Linked DNA regions of Homo sapiens: all the other regions are linked to region 3. Evidence: promoter capture Hi-C in human tissues and cell types (Jung and others, 2019). All regions are on one chromosome and are shown on one strand. The core of a region is centred on a gene start or on the middle of the fragment in contact, and the rest is flanking DNA. Distances in the headings are between cores, read along the strand shown.

The links. The method cuts DNA at HindIII sites, captures the fragments that hold promoters and counts their contacts. A contact is called where the count stands out against the background at its distance.
Region 1: a fragment that was not itself captured here is called in contact with the fragment with the promoter of RAB3B in region 3 in 1 of the 25 tissues and cell types used here (ovary).
Region 2: a fragment that was not itself captured here is called in contact with the fragment with the promoter of RAB3B in region 3 in 3 of the 25 tissues and cell types used here (small bowel, spleen and stomach).

What each region holds. Positions count from the first base shown.
Region 1 is chr1:52,024,165-52,028,312 of GRCh38, reverse strand. It overlaps TXNDC12 (thioredoxin domain containing 12), which reads left to right. Exons shown (of 7, transcript NM_015913.4): 4 at 965-1,038; 5 at 3,734-3,803. Among named protein-coding and RNA genes, the nearest start is that of KTI12, 7.6 kb to the left of the region's middle. The HindIII fragment of the contact is 9,000 bases long and covers 1-4,148 here.
Region 2 is chr1:51,928,879-51,933,039 of GRCh38, reverse strand. The region is part of intron 4 of RAB3B (RAB3B, member RAS oncogene family); the gene reads left to right. Among named protein-coding and RNA genes, the nearest start is that of NRDC, 52 kb to the right of the region's middle. The HindIII fragment of the contact is 3,929 bases long and covers 1-3,533 here.
Region 3 is chr1:51,988,837-51,992,486 of GRCh38, reverse strand. It overlaps RAB3B (RAB3B, member RAS oncogene family), which reads left to right and starts at 1,787. Exons shown (of 5, transcript NM_002867.4): 1 at 1,787-1,935. RefSeq lists a silencer at 1,764-1,873. The HindIII fragment of the contact is 14,307 bases long and covers 1-3,215 here.

The DNA of each region.
Region 1 (4,148 bases), core at 686-3,185, 36 kb before region 3:
GCTGAAATGTACGGACAGAGACATGAGAAGGAAGTAGGACCCAAATTAGAACCCAAGTTATCTGACTCTGTGGCATGTGTTCTTTCTGCTATACCACCTTGCCACTTCCCCAGACAGGCTTTTTCTTTTATTTAGTATGCTGCACTTAAAATCCTAGATGGAAAAGGAGTGTAAAAAATAGTATAAAAGACCAGGCGCAGTGGCTCATGCCTGTAATCCCAGCACTCTGGGAGGCTGGGCCGGGCAGATCACTTGAGGCCAGGAGTTGACCAGCCTGCCCAACATAGTGAAACCCCGCCTCTACTAAAAATACAAAAAAAGTAGCTGGATTTGGTGGCACGCGCCTGTAATCCTAGCTACTCGGGAGGCTGAGAATCGCTTGAGCCCGAGAGGCGGAGGTTGCAGTGAGCTGAGATCGTACCATTGTACTCCAGCCTGGGTGACAGAGTGAGACTCTGTCTCAAAAATAATAATAATAATAGGAATGTATGTGTGTATATAACATATATACACATATATACATAACATATATAACATATAATATATACGTATATATGTATATATGTATATATAACATATATACACACATACATATATGTATACACACACATATACACGTGTGGCAGACTGTCACTCTATTGTCTTTCATGTCAATGGTTTTTGAAATGTAACTATAAAAAGCAAATAATGCTTTTCCCCCCTATTCGTATGCCATTATCCTTATTTTATAAATGAGGTAACAGCTTCAGAGAAATGAAGTAAGTCACTCAAGGTCACATAGCTGTGCAGGTTCAGAATCCAGGTAGCCTAATTCTTGTTTTTTAGAGTGTAAAAAAAGTTTGTTATATGAATCAACTAAACAAATGCCTAAACTACCAAAGAGAAATAGTGATGCTTATGTTCGTTAAGGTTTAGTTGTGACAATGATGTTTTTTCTTCTATTCCAAAATCTTTTTCCCCCCAGCTCTAAAGCCCAAATTTGCAGAATCTACGGAAATTTCAGAACTCTCCCATAATTTTGTTATGGTAAATCTTGAGGTAAGACTTTGAGAGTTTCTCCTTTCTGCTATGATTTTAAGACTTTTAAAGTTAGTATCATTCGTGCATATTCATTACAGCTTCATTAGTGGTATGAAGTCAAATTTATGTATGTGTTTTTCTCTTGACCGCTAATACTAAGGCTTGCATCAGATATGTTAGAAAGCCATCTAACATCTATTTCTGGGAGGAACTAGGAGAGGAGAGATTGAATAAGATGACTAAATTTTTTTTTTTTTTATATGGAGTCTGGCTCTGTTGCCCAGGCTGGAGTGCAGTGGTGCGATCCTGGCTCGCTGCAACCTCCTCCTCCCGGGTTAAATCAATTCTCCTGCCTCCGCCTCCCGAGTGGTTGGGACTACAGGCATGCACCACCACACCAGGCTAATTTTTATATTTTTAATAGAGATGGGGTTTTGCCATGTTGGCCAGGTTGGTCTCAAACTCCTGACCTCTGGTGATCTACCCACCTTAGCCTCCCAAAGTGCTAGGATTACAGATGTGAGCCACCGCGTTTGGCCAATTTTTGTATTTTTAGTAGATATGAGGGTCTCACAATGTTGGCCAGGCTAGTCTCAAACCCCTGACCTTAAGTGATCTGCCTGCCTCGGCCTCCCAAAATGCTGGGATTACAGGCGTGAGCCAGCATGCCCAGCCTTAAGATGACTAGATTTTAAGGTCCTTTTATCCTTAGTTTATGATTATGACATGTTTTATGTCTTTGTAAAGCTAGACTAAAGGTATAGTCATACATGCAGACCACAACTTTCTGCAAAATGTGATTCAACTGAGCACCTAATCTGTGTTGGGCTTATATGTGCAACCTGCTTGTTTCCTTATGAAAATAGCTTTTACATACCTCATATAGGCTGCAGGTCTTGGAATCCTGAGTCATAGAATGTCAGATCTTAGAGTTGGAAGGGATTTTTAGGCTATTGGTACTATCCTCATTTTACAGAAAGAACCATCTTAGGCCTGAAGCAGGTATGTGATTTGGTCAAGGTCATAGAGCCTAATAAGTGATAAGAATAGGTACTCTCACCTAGCCGTGCTCTCTTTCAGGCCATACTTTTCACATGTGAGGTACTCAGATGCTCTATGATGATACCGCTAGCCATACGTTTCTGTAAAAATAATGTTTACTTGGGCCAGACATGGTGGCTCATGCCTGTAATCTCAGCACTTTGGGAGGCTGAGGTGGGTAGATCATGAGGTCAGGAGTTCAAGACCAGCCTGGCCAATATGGTGAAACCCTGTCTCTACTAAAAATACAAAAAAATTAGCTGGGTGTGGTGGTGCGTGCCTGTAGTCCCAGCTACTAGGGAGCCTGAGGCAGGAGAATCGCTTGACCCAGGAGGCAGAGGTTGCAGTGAGCTGAGATCGCGCCACTGCACTCCAGCCTGGGTGAGAGAGTGAAACTCCATCTCAAAAAAGAGAAAAAAAAAAAAAAAGATAATGTTTACTTAAACATAGGTCTGGGACTCTTGTGAACACATTAACAGTTAACAGTGAGGCAGCTAAGGGATTGCTTATATAGCTAGGGGATAGCCTGAATGCTGATACACCTCACCATAGCGAAGTATTTAACCCCTGAAATGGGAACCACATCATAAATTGTGAAAGTATTGATTGCCTTTGCACATGAATTCCTCACCACTTTCTGTGGTGAATTAGGATTCCTACTCAAAGGAAACAGTAAAAACGTCTTCATAGAGGATTCTCCAACTTTGGAAATTTCTTAAAAAGAAAACTGATTAGGCCGGGCGTGGTGGCTTATGCCTGTGATCCCAGCACTTTGGGAGGCCAAGGCAGGTGGATCACAAGGTCAGGAGATTGAGACCATCCTGGCTAACATGGTGAAACCCCGTCTCTACTAAAAATATAAAAAAATTAGCTGGGCATGGTGGCGGGCACCTGTAGTCCCAGCTACTCAGGCAGCTGAGGCAGAAGATGGCATGAACCCAGGAGGCGGAGCTTGCAGTGGGCCGAGATCGCACAACTGCACTCCAGCCTGGGCGACAGAGCGAGACTCCGTCTCAAAAAAAAAAAAAAAGAAAACTGATTGTGTAGGTTTTTAATCTCCTGGGAGGACTATGAGTCCACAACTTTGACTAAAATGCCAGTCTTATTGATTCATGCACTAAAGAAATACTATGTGCAAGTCAATGATGTAGGTACTAGGAATATAGCAGTGAACAAAACAGACAAAATTTCCTCGTTGAAATAACATGCTAGTGTGGGAAGACAGAAAATAAGTATTTTAGAATATGTCAGATGGTGGTAAATGCTAGGGCTAAAAAAGAAAGGTGGAAGGGATGACTGTGGTTTTAAATAGATGGTTTGAAAATAAAGGGATATTTGAGCAAAGGTCTGAAACAGAAAAGGGAGTCAACCATGTGGATAATAATGGGGAAAGTGTGTTCAGCAGAGAGTTAAGAGCAAGTCCAAAAGCCTGTGTTAGGATTATCCCTGGCTTGTTTAATGACAGCAACAGCAAGAGGTCAGTGTAGCTGAAGAGGACTTAACAAGGGGTAGGACATTAAGTTAGAGAAGTGCCTAGGTGATAGATCATGTAGGGCCTTATAGGCCACTGCAAGGACTTGGGGTTTTGCCCTGACAAGTGGGGAAGCCACTGAATGGTTTTGAGGAGAGAGAGGACGTTATCTGACTTAAGGTTTACATTTAATCTTAATAGGATGAAGAGGAACCCAAAGATGAAGATTTCAGCCCTGACGGGGGTTATATTCCACGAATCCTTTTTCTGGGTAAGGCACATGATCTTAACCTGGGAATCCATGATGTGGATGGAGAGAGAAATGAATCAAGGCACTGACTTCACCTAGTGAAACTATACCAGGATGACCACAAACAAATAAAAACCAGTTTCAAGAGAGAGTGGGGGAGTTCTGAATGCTAGAACTACAAGTCTGAAGGAAAACTTTTCCCATTAACTAACTGCTTTTGTAAGCAATGACAAAAGTTTGGCCGGGCACAGTGGCTCATGCCTGTAGTCTCAGCACTTTGGGAGGCTGAGATGGGTGAATTGCTTGAGTCCAATTTGAGACCAGCATGGGCAACACGGTGAAAGCCCGTCTCTACAAAAAGTACAA
Region 2 (4,161 bases), core at 320-2,819, 59 kb after region 3:
TTCCTTCCACAAAGGACTTGAGATATCTTATAAAAATGGTCACAATACAACAATAAAAATAAATAAGTAAGTGAGAAAATTGGAGCAAAGGGAAAGCAAGGGTGAGGGAAAAATAAGAGGAAGCTAGGGTAAGTATTAAGTTCTTGGACACCTGCAAGAGTTGGGGCCAAAATGTTGTCTTTGAGCTTCCTAGCAACCTTTGCCAAGAGGGAAACATAATCAGCTACATGGTTTAGAGTGTCCTAGTATAAAAACAAACCCATTATTCCAGAGAAGCACTACTCTTCATCATCAACTGTAGAGCAGACTCTGTATGCTGAATGTGACCATGTCTTGAATATCAAACATCCTTCCAGCACTGAGTATTTATATGCTGTTCTTACAGTTTATCTCAATGCAAATTCATGCTTCTCACCAAAACACAATTCACAACAAAAGTAATAGTATGAAGGAACAAAACTATGTGGTTTGAGTATGTAGCTCATCGGTGTCCTGACTTTTTCCAAGCTTAACATATTTTGATCCTTGTGCTCCTTTGAGGCCTAGGTGCCCAGGCATGTCTCAGTGGCCCCAAAGCAGAACTCTACCTACCTTTGCTTAAAAGAAGAGCTTTTATTTTATGTATTGGGGTCCAGGGTAAGGTTGCCTTACAAAAAGAGTTCCATGCCTGTAGGTTTGAAAGTTTGAAATCTTCCTCTAGAATAGATGTACTGCTTAGCTTTTAGACAGTCTCCCTAAGTATATCTCACATCCTTAGTGTTGTAAGTATTGAGGAGTGGAGAGTTTAAAGTCTCTGACAGTTTCTGAAGAACAGATATTTGGGCTTATAGGTGGGTAATCTGTATAAAATACAAGTGTGAATTGTGTGTTTTATATATTTGTATTATGAGTATGTGGGTGTGTGTGTGTTGTATACTTTTTTCTCCCCAAGGTGTCCTGTAAACTGTAGCAAACTATAAGTGCTTAATAAACAGGGAGGTTGGGTCATCTTGGGCCTTGCTGTCTCTACACTATCACAGAGGTTCTCAGAGTCCAGAAAGTGCCTCCATGTGGTCCATTGACCAATAAGCAAGTGATGAAGCCCACACCTGGTGAACTTTAGACGGTCCCTTTAGGCTTTCAACCTGTAGTCTCCCTGGAGGCTCCCAGCACTCTCCCTGGACTGACTATATTTCATCTGCTTGGAATGCTCTCTTCTACTCCCCATCTTCTACCCTCATCCAGCTGGTGAGACCCCACTCAGCTTTCAAAACAGCTTACACTTCACATCTTCTATGAAACCTTTCCCAGCCCCCTGCCAGAGCTCTTTATTTGTTCTCTCAATGCACCCCATACGTAAAAGAGTCACAGTACCCATCACAGTTGGATGCACTCATTTACTTGTCTGTCTCCCGAAAGTTCCCTGCAGACAGGAAATGAATCTTGTTTGTCTTTGTGCCTACTGTGCCTAGCATATGGCCGGGCACGGAGGATGCAAAAATATGTTTTGGTTAATTTTATGATGTTAAGTATTTGGGTACTTCATTTTATTGTCCAGTGAAGACTTCCTGAGTGCCTACTCTGTTCTAGGCCCTGAGCTGTGAAATAGGCTACATTTCCTGGTCTGAATAAGCTCGATCCAGTGAGAAAGCCTACAGTAACAGTCATAGTCCAATTGGTCAGGGCTGTGACAGAGGGATGTTGGGGGAGCATAGAGGAGGAACGTCATTCTCCTGGGATCAGAGAACATGATGCCCAAGTGGAGTCTTGAAGATAAGTAGGACCAGTCCAGTGAAGAAGAAAGTTAAGGGCATTCCAGGCAGGGGCATAACCCTGGCAGAGGCAAGGAGCTGCCTTGTGGGTCAGGGAACCATAAATCACTGGATGGTGTGAGTCTGGAGTAGTGTTGCCCAAAGAGGGGACTCACGCCACTGGAATTGTGCAGGATGATTTTCTGTATTTATTTTCTAATACATATTTGGATATGTATTAGAAAAAAATATACCAGCATGCCAAGCCCTTCTCACTAAGATTTTTTTTTTTGAGATGGAGTTTCACTCTTGTCACCCAGGCTGGAGTGCAGTGGGGCGATCTCGGCTTACTGCAACCTCTGCCTCCCGGGTTCAAGTGATTCTCCTGCCTCAGCTTCCTGAGTAGCTGGGATTATAGGCACCCACCACCATGCCTGGCTAATTTTTTGTATTTTCAGTAGAGACGGGGTTTCATCATGTTGGCCAGGCTGGTCTCGAACTCCTGACCTCAGGTGATCTGCCCACCTCAGCCTCCCAAAGTGCTGGGATTATAGGCATGAGCCACCTTGTATGGCCATTCTAAGATTTTTTAAAGGTGAATTGGTTAAACATTTATTAGGTGCTTACCATGTGTCAGGCACTATTTATTCTAAGTGTTTCAAAGTATTATGCATCTAATTTAATCCCTCTAAAACCCTCCAAGATATGTTCTTTCCTTATCTCCACATTTTGTGTGTGTGTGTTTTTTTTAACAGATGAGAAAAGTGAGGCACAGAGAAGTTGAGTAACTTGCCAAAGTCACACAGCTAGTAAGAGGGTAGAACCAGTATTTCAACTCAGGTGGTAGTCTGGCTCCCAGAGCCTGTGCTCCTAACCACTTAACTTTACTACACAGCAAATGTGGTAATCATAGCTGATATATATTGAACAAGGCACTATGTGAAATGTTTAGCATTAATTATCTCATTTAAGTCTCTTTATAAACCTTCAAGCTAGGTACTATAGAGCATGTCCAATACTCTCAAAAATGAGGTTCAGAGAGGTTAAATAACTTGCTCAAGCTATACCATTAGCAAGTGGTGGACTCAGTATAAACCTATCAAATTTATTTAGGAACACAGATAGAACACCTGAGATTAAATCTTAGTGCCATGTTTTTAGGAAGGCACTTGAAGAAGACCTTAATGAATTGGTTAGATTTGGGCAGGTCAAAGTAACCCATCTCTGCCTAACTCGACTCCCTGAGCTTTCTGCTATTGATCACCAGAACTTGCCTATTTACATGTTTATCTCTCCTCCTAGGCTTCTACTGCATGGATTGTGTCTGATTTGTTTCATTATCCTAAGGACCCAGCATAGGGTAGATATTCATTAATACATTTTACTTATTCAGTGAAAAACATTTATTGAGCACGCTGAGCCAAGTTCTGCCCTGGCACTTAGGATATAATGAATGATGAACAAACAGCTGCAATCCTTACTGTCATGGAACTAATGGGGAAAGAGACATTAAATAAATACTTACACAAATATTAATTAAAAATTGTGCAAATAAATGGGTGAATTGTATGGTATGTGAATTATGGCTCAATACAGCTGTTAAAATTGTGATAAGTTCTACTTGAGTTAGGACTCTTGTTATTGCAAGTGATAAAATTGCAAATCAAACTAGCTTTAATAAAAAAAATAGAATTGGCTGGGCGCAGTGGCTCACACTTGTAATCCCAGCACTTTGGGAGGCTGAGGTGGGTGGATCACTTGAGGTCAGCCTGGTTTGATACCAACCTGGTCAACATGGTGAAACCCCATCTCTACTAAAAATACAAAAATTAGCCGAGCATGTAGTCCCAGCTACTCGGGAGGCTGAAGCAGGAGAATCCTTTGAATCCAAGAGGCAGAGGTTACAGTGAGCTGAGATTGCCCCACTGCACTCCAGCCTGGGTGACAGAGCAAGACTCCATCTCAAAAAGAAAAAAAAAGGGAGAGAATGTATTAGCTCCTGTAACTGGGAAGTCCACAAGACCCAGGGCTCAATTGCACTCTCCATTTCTCAGCTTTACTTATCCCCTCAGCCTCTTTCTATAGCCAGACTCTCTGCGTGGGGAGTTAGAGGGATGATGGCAGATTCATGGCTTCCCAATTCCTGCAAAAAGAGACCTTCTCTCTCCCAACCACTATGAATCAATCCCAGAGAATACTATGATTGGTCACCTGTGAGTCATGTGCCCATCCCAGTGGCTGGGGGAGGCAAGTATGGCAACATAGTCCCAATATAACTGTTTAAAATGGTGGTTTCCTAAAGGAGGGAATGAAGGGGGCAGATAGAAGTTAACATAAGTCCACCACAAGTGCTATGAAGAAGTGCAAGAGAGAAACCTAATTTTAGGCTGGAGAGTTAAGGTTTTCTGAGAAAGTAACACTTAAGGTGAGA
Region 3 (3,650 bases), core at 538-3,037:
CATCCCCACATCCTAGTTTTATAGTATATGGGGAGTGGAAAAATGAGAAGCCTTCTAGCAGAGGGCAGCAAAGGAGGCAGTACCTGGAGGAGGCTCAGGCAAAGAAGTCACCTGAGTACTCTGAAGAAGCAGAGGGTATAGCAGAGTTTGTTGACAAAAGAACAGGATTCTAGAAGGCACAGAGGAAAGAGCTGCCAGTGTGATGGGCAGTGTGAGTGAAAGGGCTGGGCAAGAAGCTCAGAAGAGTAAGCGTCTGAGGCAGAGGCCAGACAAGCAGAGGAGCTGTCAGCTTGGGTGGTTCCTAGGCTGGAGATGTACACTGTAGACAGGGTCATAATGGAACTTGGGGGGAAAATGGTTTTGGTATTTGACTCAGACCTCTAAGATCTGAGATGGGGGAGAAGTGTGGGGAAAGACAATGATTCTAGAGCAAGCCTTCAGCTGGCTCCTGTGACCTCAGGAAGACTGGAAGTCCATATCAGGATTTGAGGGTGGGGTATTTATTGCCTCCTCTATCTGCCTCCTCTAGTGGAAGTGGGACTTCCTAGGGCCAGGCCAGGCAAGAACATTTTTCTACTCCTGTTGACAGCCTCCTGGTAATGGGAAACCATTGAGAGGTTTTTGTTTGTTTGTTTGTTTGGTTTTTGATGGAGTCTGGCTTTGTTGCCCAGGCTGGAGTGCACTGCTGGAGTGCAGTGATCTCGGCTCACTGCAACCTCTGCCTCCTGGGTGCAAGCAATTCTGCCTCAGCCTCCCAAGTAGCTGGGACTACAGGCATGCACCACCATGCCCGGCTAATTTTTGTATTTTTAGTAGAGACAGGGTTTCACCATGTTGGCCAGGTTGGTCTCGAACTCCTGACCTCAAGTGATCTGCCCACTTTGGCCTTCCAAAGTGCTGGGATTACAGGCGTCAGCCACTGTGCCTGGCCGAGAGTTTTCTTAAACAAGGTTGATGGTAACATGGTGACATTTTTTAAAGGGTTGCTCGGGCTTGTGTCAAAATGATTTTGGTATCTGACTCAGAATGAATGGGACCAGGAAGTCTCACAGCTACCGAAGTCACCAGGAGTATGGCAGAACAGGGGCTAGTTAGGATGACCATGGGCCAGGGGCTGCAATCTTTAATGCATAAGGAACAATTGGGTGTCAGTGATGAGGAGGGGTGGAGGGTGGTATGACTGGAGACCACAGGAGAAAGAATTTTTGTACAAGGGTGGAAATGGCCATGCTGACACCACGTCCTGGTTTTATAGGGTGAATTGGAGAGTGAAGGCAGGAATTAGGAAGCTGTTGCATTAGTCCAAGCAAGAAGTGATGATGCTGGAGTCAGAACAAGGGCAATGGAGACACAGAGGAAGGGCAGGGATATGTTAAGGCGGTGGGATGTGGGGTGTGAAGGAAACACAGATAGGGTAGAGGACAGCGTCCAGGTTTCTGGCTTGGTTTCCGCTTGTAGTCAGCCTCCCTCTCTGGGCTTTTGTGAAGACGGAGCCATAGAACGGACCGGACCAGAAAGCAGTTTGGAAATGGCAAAACTGCTACCCATCATCAGCTACATTATCATCAAAGCTCTCTAATTACCCTAGTAAGTTCAGTCAATGGAACGAGGCATGACAATTAAGATAAATCACGAGAGTCACCCAGACATGGGGGACCTGGAGGTCCTGAGTCACCTCGGATTACACCTGCTAGGAGTTGAGGGCCGGGGCGGGGCGAACACAGACTCCGCCCTTGGGCGGGGCCTGGATGCGGCCGGAGCGGAGCAGTGCTGGAGCGGGAGCCTCAGCCCTCAGGCGCCACTGTGAGGACCTGACCGGACCAGACCATCCCGCAGCGCCCCGCCCCGGCCCCCTCCGCGCCCTCCCGACGCCAGGTCCTGCCGTCCCGCCGACCGTCCGGGAGCGAACCCGTCGTCCCGCACTCGGAGTCCGCGGTAAGGGGCGCGGCCCCGGCAGCCCGCCCGCGGAGGATCAGGGACCGATCCCCGGCGCGGGGCGCTGGGCACCGAGAGCGGGCGCCGAGAAGGAGCGCGGGGCAGCGGAAGGAAGCCGGGGGAGGAGCGAGGGAGGGGGCTCCGCGGCGGCAGAGGTGGGGCTCACCTAGGGAGGGGGCGCCGAGGGGGTCTCCCAGACGTTGGGGGCAGCCGGGGGAGCTCCAAGGGCGGGAGGGGAGCAAGAAAGACGGCGCTGGGGCTGGGAGGAGAGATGGGGGGCAACTGGAGGGCAGTGAGGGATCGCTGGGGGAAACGGGGGCGTGGGGGGCGGGGGAGCTGCGAGGAGGGCGGAGTGGGGCTGTGCGGAAAGGTGGTACCGGGCAGCCGAGGGGCAGCGAAGGGGGCGGTGAAGGGAGCGGACTGAGGGGAGCTAGAGCGGGGGTGCGGGGGGAGGCATGGAGGTGAGGAGCTGAGGGGAGGGGACTGGCTGGGCGGGGGTCGTTTGGAGCTGGAGGGGACTGAGGTGCCGAGGGCAAGGGGCGCTGGGCAGCTGGGGAGTGTCTGGTTGGGAGAGGGTCGGGGGTGGGGATGTGGGTATGGATAGCTGGGAAGGAGAAAGGCAGCAGGGCAGTGTCTGGTCGAAAGAGGGTCATTTATGGGGGATGTGGGTATGGATAGCTGGGGTCGGAGGTTGAGCCCGGCTGGGGACCGGCGTGGGGGTAACTGTAGATGGAAGACGAGGGGTGGGGCTTGGGGGCGGGAAGCTTGGGAGAATGGAAGGGTGAGAGGCCAGGTTGGGTCTACCCTGCTGCAGAGGAAGGGGGCAGGGAGCCGGTGGAGACACAGGGAAGTGGCCTTGGAAATGGACACAGGGGCCTACATTCTGGTCAGGAGTGGAGAGGAGGCTCTGGAATAGAGTAGGGTCTGGCGGCTGCAAGTGGAGGAATCGTGGGAGAACTTGGAGTGTATAGATAGGGTGGTGGGGCGCTGGGTCAGCCTGGGGAGGAGGCCAGGTGTGGGTCGTGGTGTAAGGGTGGAAAGGTAATGGGGGCTGGAGTGGTGTCCACGCACTAGCGGTGTCTCGGCCACTCAGGAGTCCAAGGAGGGGACCCAGGCACTGGACCTTGTTACACGGGCACCGGGGATCACAGAAAATAAGAGAATCGTGGACAGAAAAAGTCATCCAACTCTGTTCTGTAGTCCAAGCATGGAAGCAACTTTGGGGAGGGCAGGGCAGCAGCCTTTGGAAGCTAAGAGAGATGTGGAGGAGGTGGGAGAAAGATGGGCCCTCAAAACACACACACACACACACACACACACACACACACACACACACACACACAAAACAAGATGGGCCCTCTTCCCCCGGCTTCCTGGAATCCAGATGGAAAGGGGTGGGAGACAGTAAAAGGAGAGGATGTGTGTGTGTGTGTGTGTGTGTGTGTGTGCGCGCGCACAGGTGGGTGTCCACCTGTTCTGTGCCTATAAACAGAGGAAGACAATGGAAGCCGTGAAAGGCCCTATCTATAGAAGTGGAAAGCCCTGGTGCCCTGTGGGAGCCAGAGAAGAAGCATTTTGGGGGAGGTGGGTGGGTTGGGGAAGCCTTCCTGGTCATGAAGGATTTAGCTAGCAGTGGAGGAAAGTGTGTTCCTATCAGAGGAAACCGTATGGGAAAAGGCAAAAATCTAAAAGCATCTCCAGTCCAAGAAATAGAT